Regions from separate parts of the Homo sapiens genome. Here regions 2 and 3 are each linked to region 1. Evidence: promoter capture Hi-C in 16 types of primary human blood cells and fetal thymus (Javierre and others, 2016). All regions are on one chromosome and are shown on one strand. The core of a region is centred on a gene start or on the middle of the fragment in contact, and the rest is flanking DNA. Distances in the headings are between cores, read along the strand shown. Region 1 holds the start of NTF3 (neurotrophin 3). Region 2 overlaps ANO2 (anoctamin 2). Region 3 overlaps LOC105369617 (a long non-coding RNA gene).

Region 1 (3,870 bases), core at 581-3,080:
CAGGGAGGCGGGCCAGATGAGAGGGAGAAAAGCAGAACCCGACAGAGCACGCCCAATCCAAACCTTCATGGTGCTGTGTGGCTGGGTGGAGGGAACGACTCGGCAGCCTCTTCTGGCCCTGAGGAAGACGTCGATATTTTGGCACGAGGGGAGCCACTGAAGGACTACCCTACCCTTGCGAGGGACCGCAGGAGGTGACGCCCCTGGGCCTCGGTGGGCGCTTCTGGCGGTTTTCGATGTGGCAACCCCCATCAGCCAGGATAATGATGAGGCAGGTACAATCTATCTAGTACGCAGCCCCCAGACTCCCCCCTCCCTTCCCACCTCCCCATCCAACCCCCCAGCTACTCTCTGCGGCCGGTTGGTCCTGAACTGGTGGGTGCAGTTCCGATGTTTAACCAAATTCTCAAGCAATTTCAAGGTATTTGGATTTTTTGAACCTGGGCCCTAACCGAAACGCGGAACGGCTTGCTTATTAGACACCTCGAACGACAGGGCAGGGAGGAAACGGGATACTCGCTGCCCTTCCCAGTCGCGCGTGAGTCAAAAGGTCCTGGCAGGAGATGATGTGAGGAGCGGCTGAAGTGGCAGGGAGGAAGGGATGAGGGGCTTGGAGCGGAGGTCCACCACGCAAGGACTCGGGAAGCGGGCAAGTGGGCAAAACTCTGCTTCCGGGCTCTCGATTTCTCGTTGATCACTAAGTGGTATTTTTCCCCCTTCTCTCGATGGCAAATGGGCGAAATCAAGATGACTTAACTTGGTAAATTTAGAGAGAACGGCTCGGAGCAAGTGAGGTCTAACGGGCAGCTAAAATTATCTCCAAATAAGAGATTTTGACCCCCTCCCCCTATCCTCTCCTCGAATGTATCCACCGGTGGGGAAGTGAGCGTCATTACTTTCGGGGCGCCACGAACAGGTTTGTTTGTTGCTCGCCTTTCCTGCTTCTCGCGCTGTCCCCGCGTGCAGACTGGTGGGTGCTGGGCGAGTGATTAGCTGCAGGGCCCCATCCTAGTTTGGAAGGAAGGGGTTTAGAAGTTGGAGGATGGGTGAAATGGGAGGCTGCGATCCATCTCCCTCTCCCTTCCACACTCAAGCTCCCGCAAACACGCGCGCGCACACACAGCCCCTCCCTAGTCCCTCGGACCACCCGCCCCCACGCCCCTCTACCTTGACCTCCCTTGACCGCCGACACAGCGTCCTGGGTGCGGGTCCCCGGGAGCGGGGAGTTCGCCGGGGAGCGATTGTCCTTGGGCGTGTTCGTGCTGTGGGGTGGGGGGAGGAGTGGCGGGTGGGCTTGGTAGGGGGTGGGGAGAGATCTGGAGCTGGAAGGGTCTAAGGTTTGGAGGAGGAGTTTACGCCTCAGACCTGATCCTCCTGAGGAAAAAGGCAGGAAAAGGCCCTGATGCCTTGTAAAGAAAATCTTGAAAGAAAAAAGATCAAAAAGAAAAATTTCAAGAAAAAGAACCACTAAGAAAGGCTGAAGACACTAACATGTAACCTGTTACGATACATTTAACGTTTCGTTTTTTCCTGGATCTCTAAAAGGGAACTCAAGGGTGGGGGTTACTGAAGAATACTACAGATTTGGAAGTTTTTGTTGCTGTTGTTGTTTGGTTTGGTTTTGTTTTTCAAGAGGGGCCAGGAGAAATGACCCCTTCCCCGCCACGGGTCCCGAAGTGAGGGCGGGGGGGGGGCTCTGGGGCGCGGGCGCGCGCGGCGCGGCGCGGGCCGGCGGGGGAGGGCGGCGCGGCGCGGAAGGGGTTAAGGCGCTGAGCGCGGAGCCATCTGGCCGGGTTGGCTGGTTATAACCGCGCAGATTCTGTTCACGGGACTCAGAGTTGAAGCTCCTCTCCCTTCCGAACAGCTCCGCGCACCGCCCCGCGACGCAGCCCGGCGCAACTACTTTCTTCTCTCTCCTTTCTTTCTTCCTCTCCTTTTTCCCCTGCTGGGTAGTGGCTGCGGCGGGGTGGGGGAGACTTTGAATGACCGAGCTCGCGTCCACCTTTCTCTTCATGTCGACGTCCCTGGAAACGGCCACACGGATGCCATGGTTACTTTTGCCACGGTAAGGGGAGGCGGCGGGCACCTTGGGTGGGCAGGTTTGGGGATGGGGGTCCACGTGGGGAGGGATTTTCCAGTGGACTGGTGCGGGGGGCCCCAGATCCGCATCCCGCCCCACCCCCATCGCGCCGCGCTCACTCACTTTCCCGGGCTTGTGTCTTCCCCAAAGTTTGCGCTGGGATCTGCTCAGGCCGAAGCGCAACCGCAGCCACCCCGCTACACACACACACACACACACACACACACACACACACACACACACACACACAGACACGGACACCCTTCTCCACCTCCTCCCCTCTTGTCCCTCGGCTGCCCAAGAAGCTTCCCTCAATCTGGGAAAGTGATCAGGTTTAAGGGACCTGGATTGGAAAGGGTGGGGGCAGAAGAGGGGAAATGGGGACGACGAAAGAGCAGGAAAGAGATTCAACAGAATCAACCACCCACCACTCCCAACCGACCCGCCTGCTCCTCCGAGAAAGCTCCTAGCGCATCCTATAACAAAAGGGGGTGGCAGACAGAACTCCGGGCGGGGAGGTGCCGCGGCAGCTCCCCTGCACACGCCCTGCACTCTGCCGGCCGCTGAGCCTGATTCTCAGCTCGCCCCAGCACCACTCTGGCCCGGGCGTGGGCTGGGGGGAGGGGACGCGCAGCTCAGGACCCGGAACCTCGCGTTCCAGTTTTGGGAGTTGGGACTCACTGCCACGCGCCGCGTACCTGCGTTGGAGTTCCCCGAAAGGGTTTTTTCAGAAAAGACCTCGCGCCCCGGGCTCCTCTTGGCCAGCGCCCACCCGGTGGCCACCCCACCCTGGGCCTTTGCGCAGATGTTGGAGCTCCGTACGCAGCCCGCACATCTGGGACCCCTCCGGGGAGCGGCGGGCACCCGGGCCCGGCCATCCCAGGGGATCTCCTTGCGGTATCGTCCAGCCTGTTCTCGGACTTTGAGCGGTGGCGTGGGAGGCCGGGAGACCTGGGCACCCGCGCAGCCAGCCAGGTCGGAGTTTAAAGGTCCCACGACGGACCGAACTGTCCCATTGCCCCAGAGCTTTACTCAGTGGTGGATGCTCCTGATGAAATTTGGGACGCTTGGGAGTTGAAGGTTAGGGACAGGAGGGGCGAGGGCCGAGGGCATGGGATGGGGGAGTAGGATTCTGCTTGTTGCTCTCCGCGGGAGTGGGTGCGCGTCCAGGAGGCGCTGCTTCTTTGCGGGAGTTTGGCTGCTGCGTTCATTCGTCGTCTGCGCTTCAGATGCACGGCACTGAGACCCTTGCGTCCGACGGTGTCGGGGCTGTGGACTAGAAAGGATCCCTTTTGCTGGAATCGAGGCTGGGGTGGGATTGCCGGTGGGGGAAACACCGAAAAGATCGTCTGGCCTCGGCCTCTGGCGGCGGGCGGCAGGTTCTGAGTCCGAATGGAGGTTGCTCCCGGGAGCGCCGGGCTCAGAGCTAGAGAGCTCGGGAGACTGTGCGCCTGTGGACTTGTTTATGTGTGTGAAGAGGCGGGGGCGAGGGCCTGCTGAGAGGGGAGGGGAGCCTGGAAGGGGTGGGTGTTTCTCCTGGAGCCTGATGTTTGTAACTCAGCTGATTATGGAGTGCACTGAGCGACCTGCTTTTTAAATAAAGAGGTGCCCGCTCCTACCCCGCAAAACAGCGAACGAGGAGAACATGGAAGCGCTCTGTCCTAAACGTCAGGATGGGAGAAAGTTGTAACATAGAGGAGACTTTTCCAGAGGTCCTGTTTTCACAACACTCAGAAGTTCTCCAGCGTACTCAGCCTGCCTCCCGCCTGCCCTCAATTCCTTTTTGACAT
Region 2 (3,870 bases), core at 398-2,897, 430 kb after region 1:
GGAGGTAACTGAATCATGGGGGCGGTTTCCCCCATACTGTTCTCGTGGTAGTGAATAAGCTCACAAGATCTGATGGTTTTATAAGGGAAAACCTCTTTCTTTCTTTCTTTCTTTTTTTGAGACAAAATTTCGCTCTTGTTACCCAGGCTGGAGTGCAATGGCGCAATCTTGGCTCACTGCAACCTCCACCTCCCAGGTTCAAGCAATCCTCCAGCCTCAGCCTCCTGAGTAGCTGGGATTACAGGCACCCACCACCACACCCAGCTAATTTTTTGTATTTTTTTCTTTTTTTTAGTAGAGACGGTGAGGGGAAACCCCTTTCATTTGGTTCTCAATTCTCTCTTGTCTGCTGCCATGTAAACACATGCCTTTCACCTTCCACCGTGATTGGGAGGCCTTCCCACCCACGTGGAACTGTGAGTCCATTAAACCTCTTTTTCTTTATAAATTACCCAGTCTCTGGTATGTCTTTTTTAGCAGCGTGAGAACAGACTAATACACCCTCCAACATATCAAGGGTGAGAGAACCTCTTCCCCACTCAACCCCTGAGCTGCAGAGGACCCCAAAGGCAGCACGGCACCTTGAAAGACCTAACCTATGGGGAGTCAGCAACAGAGTGTGACTCAGGCTTCTCTAGGTGTTATTCTACTTCAGAAATCCTACAGGTGGAAGAAATAGGGAATAATCCTCACCATGTAAGATAGGCCCCGGGAAGGCCATGGGTTCTGGAGCCTGAGGACCAGGCCTTGGGCCCCAGCTCTGTCACTTACCAGCTGCACCATTTCCAACAAGCCACCAAAGCTCTCTCGGATTGACAGGCAATGTTAAATAATTGTAATAATTAATAATAATACCACTTGGAGGAGAGAAGGATAGACTTTACAAAAGGACCTGTGGAAATGTTTGGGGGTGGTAGATATGTTCATTTTCTTGATTACAAGACAGTGATGGTTTCACAGTGATGGTTTTGAACACATGTCAAAACTCAACAGATTGGATACTTTAAATATGTGCAGTTTATTATACATCAGTTATACCTCAAAAAGGCTAGAGGGAAAAGATATGCAAAAATGTAAAACAATGCAACACTTCTTGTAACTTTTTTTGTTTTAAAAAATCATTATTTTTAATTATAATGTTTTATGTTAAATAAACATTATTTACTTAACAATATGTTATATATTCGTTAGCTTTTAATTAATAATAAATATTCAAAAGTGAATAATGATTTCATGGTATCTCAGAATCAAATAAGGTTGTACATATGAAGGTATTTTGTAAACTATGAAGTGTCTACAAAAGGATTTTTTAAAGAGCAAGTGCAGGGATAGGCACTGTGAAATCTCTGCCTTGGTACTCAAAGCACAGGGCATACCCATGTTCCTAGGGCCAAAAAAACACATGTCCTTGACCCCTGTGGGAATCCCACCATGTTTCTTGGATCCCACATAAAAAAAATCATAGCTGAGCCCACCGAGGCAGTAGCCCCTGGCATGTAACTGAACACCACCAAGTGAGGATGAAGATAAAAGTGAACATTTCTCTTGGGAGTTTATGATGCTCAAAGATAACAGGCTGAAAGTAGCCAGATGCAACATTTCTACCAAAAATGAGAGAATGACAATCCATAAGCCCCAAAGATGTTGGCAGAAAGAACAGGGCCTCTCCCAAAACTCAGGGAGGCCAGTAGGCTGGCGCCTGGGCTTCCAGCACACAGAACCAGCCCAAACAGGGGATCCTGGATGAACTGTGAGGAAAGACCCAAGGAAAATGCTGCTGTTTCCTATTCATCACAGTGAAATTGTTCTGGACAGTCGCCATCCTGCAAGTGGAATCAGATGCTGTGGATGCTAACTCTCAGCAATGGGTGTGCCTCTCCCTCACCCCCACCAGGACACGGAGAGCACTTCAGTGCCTGAGGAATGGAAGGCAAGAGAGCAATGGGCAAAGGGGTGCCCTAGCTGGTCATTAGTAAATACTCAGACCACAGATGATCAGTAGGTCCTGGCTGGCCTGGAACAGTCTCTGTTTATTCCCCTTGCCTCATCATCCCATCAAGTTTAGGATTTTAGCATTCTCAAAAATGTCCCAGGCTAGACAAGCAAATCACAGGATCAACCTGTGAGCACCACTACACTTAATAGCCATCAAACCTTTGAGCAAGAATGCCCAGTATCCCCTTCCTGTCTTTCATTTATTTGGCCCATGTGAAAAATATCCCACTCAGAGAGAAGCATTCCCAGGCATTTAAAAGCTGGTCATATTAACTCTGAAAGCCCTATCTCTTCATTATCTCTAATGTCTCTCCTGACTTAAAATTTGCATGATTCCTTGATTTTGCTACTTTTCTTCCAACCTCAAGACACCTCCCTAAACCCTTTATGTTATCAGTAATTAACTCCCCTCCCCCACAAGGATATGCCCCTGCCTTCTCTTAGCAGTGACTCATCTCTCCCTTAAAGAATCTTTACACTATTTTCCTATGATTCAATCATCCTAACAAAGTTCAATTCAACAAGTATTTATTGGGCAACGACTGTGTGCTTGGCAATGTGCTAAGAGTTAGGGCATATGAAAGAAATCTAAGCCATCATGCCATCACACCATCATGCCATCACATCACCATGCATTCACACCATCATGCCACCACACCATCATGCCATGACACCATCATGCATTCAAACCATCATGCCATCACATCACCATGCATTCACACCATCATGAATTCATACCATCAAGAATTCACACCATCATGCCACCACACTACCATTTCATCACACCATCATGCATTCACACCATCATACATTTACACCAGCATGCCATCACACCATCATACATTCACACCATCATGCATTCATACCATCAAGAATTCACACCATCATGCATTCATACCATCATGCCACCACACCATCATGCCACCACACCATCATGCCATCACACCATCATACCATCACACCATCATGCATTCACGCTATCGTGCATTCACACTATCATGCCACCACAGCATTATGCCACCATATCATCAGGCCATCACACCATTATGCATTCACACCATCATGCAATCACACCATCATGCATTCACACCATCATGCATTCACACAATCATTCATTCACACCATCATGCCACCATACCATCATGCAGTCACACCATTTTCATTCTCTTTGGAAACCAGATAAATGATATCTAATACCTGGGACAGATCACGACCAGGGCAATTAACGTCCAAAGGGACAGGACGACAATGAACGATCATTTGTTTGTCATCTCCCCTTTCACTCACCAATAGTTGCCAAGTTTTGCTCTGAGAGAAACACCCCTACTGGAGCTCAGCCATATGTTTTTAGCAGAATTGATCCCATCCCAAATCCAAGCCTATGCCCAATTAGTTTGAACCAATCAGCATATCCAACCCTCTGCCACAACGACTGCTTCTGGAATATGCTTGTAATGTGGTCAAAATCAATAAGATGTGAGGAAATAATGGCCAGGATTTCTAGGGAAAGCAGCTTTCTCCTTCCGTCAGACTCTGGGGGATAACAGTGGCCATCGATTCACTCCATAAAGGGAAGTCCTGGGTCAGCAAGGGGGATCAGTGAGAAAATAAAAGATGAAGTGGACCCTGCAGATGGTTGAGCAGAAAGATAGAGAAATTGGTTGTCTTTAGGGACATCATGGGAGCTGAGGGATCAAGCCTCACCAGATCTGCTTATGGGCTTCCTGATCACACGAGCTTATAAATTCCCTTTGTTGTTTGAGCTGGTTTGAGTTGGATGTTCTGCCAATATGAACAAGCATTCTCACTGATATAAGAAACTACTGGAAAGAGCTGACTCTGGGCTAGAGCCAGAGGGCATGTTGTGGAGGAGAG
Region 3 (3,870 bases), core at 472-2,971, 280 kb before region 1:
AAGGCAAAAGCCTTGTTGGAGGAGGGTATTGGAAGAGCCCTTTTTGCACTAAGGCATTCAGTCTCTTTATTTTAGAACTTCTCTCTGCAAAAAGCATCACACGCATATGGTGTCGTCCAAGGAAGAGTCCCCAGGCTCTAAGCTGCATCTCGGCACTAGCATATCCGCAGTGTTCTCCCTGCTTCATCTCTGGTGCCCAACCTCTGTTCCCTTCAAAGCCCCTTTCTTGTCTCCCCTCACTTGATTTTCCCCAGTGTCATATTAGAGGTTTTCCCACTTCTGAGTGCTCAGAATCAGGCATTTTGCTCAATCAATTTCAAGGACGATTAGAAAAGTTCATCCAAGATCAAACGTCTTCTCTTTCTTTTTTTTTAAAAAAAGTCTGTAATGTTGAAGGGGGAACAAAGCCAAGTGTCCTCCTTCCCTGGGCTTGGGAATGGGGGGCTTGCTTCTGCCTCCCCTATTTACCCCCAACTCGAATGAGGCCTGTGAAAAGGGAGCTGCTCCTTCCCCAAGCTTCTCATTTCACCTGTAACAGTGGGGAGACACGCAGTGGCTGATAAGGATCCTCCAGGGAATTTTCTGGCTGTTAGACCAGGCCCAAGCCCTTCATGAACAGGCCATTCCCAGGGCCTCGGATTTCAGGATGAGGTGATTAGCAAGGGGGTTTCAGACCCGGCAGAGCCCTCTCCTGGCTGTGCATCTGCAGAACTAAGGAGCTGCTGTGTCTGCAGCTGCTGGGAGCTGCAGCTTGCTCTGTCTCTGAGGGTCAGCGAGGGCGTGACAGAGGGTAACAGGCAGAACTGTTAGCAGACTGGCATTGCTTCTCAGTCTCAGTCTGTAGTGAAACTGAAGAGAAAGCTCTTCTGTGCTGGCTTCAAAGATGACAAGCAGAAGAATTCCACCTCTCTTTAGTATTCTGAAATTTTTTCCATGCTCTCTTCTTCCCACACACAAAATCCTAGAATTGGAGAATTGCAATACACTAATATACTTTAAAAGCCTTTGGAGTACAGTTCTCCTCATTTTACATATAGGGAAACAGTCATGAAAAGAGGGAGAGTGGCTTGCCACAGACCACACATTAAAGAGTGTCAGGGTGGGGATAAAAAGCTTTCTTACTTCTTACCCCTGAGAACCATCCCATTGATTCCCAACATCTGGTCATGAGCACAGAATTTTCATTATTTTTGGCATATCTGTAAACACCTGTGCTATTACTTAATACTTTTTCTTTAGCCAGATCCATTTTTTACTTAAATGCAGTTATTTTAAAAGGAAACTATGTCACTAATGCCTATGGAAAAGCAGCATTACTTGCCTTAAATATTGGAGACCAAAAGGCAAATGTGATTAATGGAAAATGACATTGTGGAATGAGCTGGGTACTGTAGTCTGTTGAGGGTTCTTGTGTCAAGACCTATTTGGGGGATTACAGTAGGAGCTAAGAGTTTGAAAAGTGTTAACAAGATCCTGGCACCCGACCGACACATTCTCCTTGAAGGGAAGGAGGAGAATCGAAATGGAACATCCCTGCTAAAAACCACCAGTGCTCCTCCATGCACCAGCACAGTTTTCTCTGGATACCCATGGTACATGTTCTTCACTTTGGGGTCTCTGCCTTGGATCATGGTGTCTTCAGAAGGATGGTGGGCTCTTTGCCTTGCTGTTCTCCCTTCTCAAGGGTTAGGCTGCACAGATGCCGAAGGTAGACACAATAGTCCTTACACATTTCAAAAAATATGGACAATGTTTCCTACGGAGGAACAAATTTTTCTGTCAGATGGTGAAATTTCTCACAATATTCTGGTTGAGAACATCCTTGAGAGGGAAGTAGGGTAAGGGAGAGTGATTAAGGACATTTTGGGGTCAAGAGATAGCTAAGTGATTTTCTGTACACTAGATATCCTCCACCTCCCCTTTATCCACACCCCCGTATGCCACAGTGACACACATCATTCTCAGTGATGATGGAAATGAACAGGATTCCCTGCTCATGGGAATAGCAAACAATCGCTCTGCATGTGGTCTGAGGCTCAGGAGTCCAGGTGAAATCAAGTCTGCCCAGTCCTGAGTTGTCCATCCTTTCACCACCTCCCCTCTTCTGTATTATCACCACAAGGAAAGAACCGTCAGCAAATTGTTCCTAAGCACCTGGCACTGTGCTAGGTGTTTGCACCTGCACTTACAGTGGCTTTGTGTGGTTGAGACAGGGTTCCTTTATATTAAAGGACAGCAAGGACATACATGCCACATACAAGATGATGGGGGTCCCAGGAACATTCTGGGAGCCTGAGGAGGGAGTGAGGCCAGAAGCTCAATGCAGCAGGGAAGCTTTGTGGAGGAGGTAGGATTTTTGCAGAACTTCCTTCTCCCTATTTCCCCTGGTCTTCCTCCTTCCCCTCTTGCCCTTGTCCGGTTCGCACTGACAGCGGCCGGCGGGAGGGTTGGCTCTCACTCCTGGATGTGGGCTGAACAAGCATCCCGGAAGCCTGCGGTGGTGGGAGGCTGGCCAGGTGGACAGCACCCACGCTGCTGCTTGTGGGATCCTCGAAGACAGATTTACCAGTTGCCAAATTCTCCTTGTAGCCCACTCTCCTCCCTGAGGCCCCACACAGCAATTCCTGAGGCCTGGTGAGGGGAGGAGAGGGCTCAGAAAAGGCAGGTGAAACAGAATCACACACAAACTACAGAGACTCTGCAGGACCATCTCCAGCAGATTCCACCTCTGCCTCTACAACACCCCTCAGGCCAGAGGGAGAACACAGGCTGGCAGATCTGCAGTTTTCACTCCGCTGTGGCTCCTCCTTGCTCTACATCATTGTCTTGGAGGGTTAGGGAGCATCACAGGAAGCCTGTAGGGACAGCCCAGGCAATGGGGCCAAGGAAGCAGGTACCTTTCAAAAAGGCCAAAAGACGACAAAGAAAACTGTTGGGTGCAGGCAGGTGGGGCTGCCTCAACCCATGCCCAGCATGGGCTCTGTGAGCTGAGACCTCAGGGGTCAGGGTCACCCACTGCCAACTACACAACAAGTAAAGCGAATGAGGCCAGGGCACTGAAAATGCCTGAGGTTGTCTGTGCCTCCCAGAACCTACCTGTTGGCTCGCAAACCGTTGGGGTGTGATCTCACTGTACAAATGAGGAAATGCAGTAGTAAGCCAAGGGGACTTAGCCCAGTGTGACACAAAACATGAATGGTAAAAATCAAAAGTTGAACCTACTTCTCCCCCTTCTACATCCAGTTTGCCCAAATGCCTTTGGTAATTTGGGGTAAGGGGTGCAGTGGTGGGGAGACTGTTCAGATTGAAATAACAGTGAAATATTTCCAAGTGATATAGAATGGCCTGGGCCAGACTGAGCCACCTCTGGCTGTTCTGTGGTTGCTTGGGTCATGGGTTACACACAAGGTCTGGCTGTTGTGACCTCCGTCCCATGTGCCCCGAAGGTGGGATTCTTGTTCCACCACTGTGAACACTGCCTGCAAAGCTGGGGGCTCCTGGCCCTACTGCCCGTGGTCCCTGGTGGGCCATCTGAAGGCCATCCCACTGGGATCTTCCCTGTATTTACCGGCAAGCCCAGCTCTGAGCTGGAATGTGGACACTCAGAGGATGGGCTGGGGGAACAGTCAGAAGATGACATCTGATACTCAGCAGGACTCAGGGAGAAATCACCAAGCTGGGTGATAAAGTGGATGTAGTTTGCTTGTTGGCACGAGTGGAACCCAGGGCTAGGCATCTGGAACTCCCCACACCTTGAATCCCCTACCGACCTGTAAACAGTAGGTAGCAAACTCATTGGCACTGATAATCTGAGTGTGGTTTAGCAGCCCATGAGGTGGTTTAATAGAAAGATCACCAGCAGGGGAGGCA

What was found. The method cuts DNA at HindIII sites, captures the fragments that hold promoters and counts their contacts. A CHiCAGO score of 5 or more calls a contact.
Region 2: a fragment that was not itself captured here is called in contact with the fragment with the promoter of NTF3 in region 1 in 1 of 17 cell types (megakaryocytes); the score reaches 5.6 in megakaryocytes.
Region 3: a fragment that was not itself captured here is called in contact with the fragment with the promoter of NTF3 in region 1 in 1 of 17 cell types (M1 macrophages); the score reaches 5.4 in M1 macrophages.

Annotation. Positions count from the first base shown.
Region 1 is chr12:5,430,278-5,434,147 of GRCh38, forward strand. NTF3 (neurotrophin 3) reads left to right here and starts at 1,831. Exons shown (of 2, transcript NM_001102654.2): 1 at 1,831-2,065. The coding sequence starts at 2,048. RefSeq lists an enhancer at 2,648-3,173. The HindIII fragment of the contact is 3,984 bases long and covers 1-2,383 here.
Region 2 is chr12:5,862,690-5,866,559 of GRCh38, forward strand. All of the region lies in intron 3 of ANO2 (anoctamin 2), which reads right to left. Among named protein-coding and RNA genes, the nearest start is that of ANO2, 81 kb to the right of the region's middle. The HindIII fragment of the contact is 5,752 bases long and covers 1-3,870 here.
Region 3 is chr12:5,153,614-5,157,483 of GRCh38, forward strand. The region is part of intron 1 of LOC105369617 (a long non-coding RNA gene); the gene reads left to right. Among named protein-coding and RNA genes, the nearest start is that of LINC02443, 88 kb to the right of the region's middle. The HindIII fragment of the contact is 1,221 bases long and covers 1,112-2,332 here.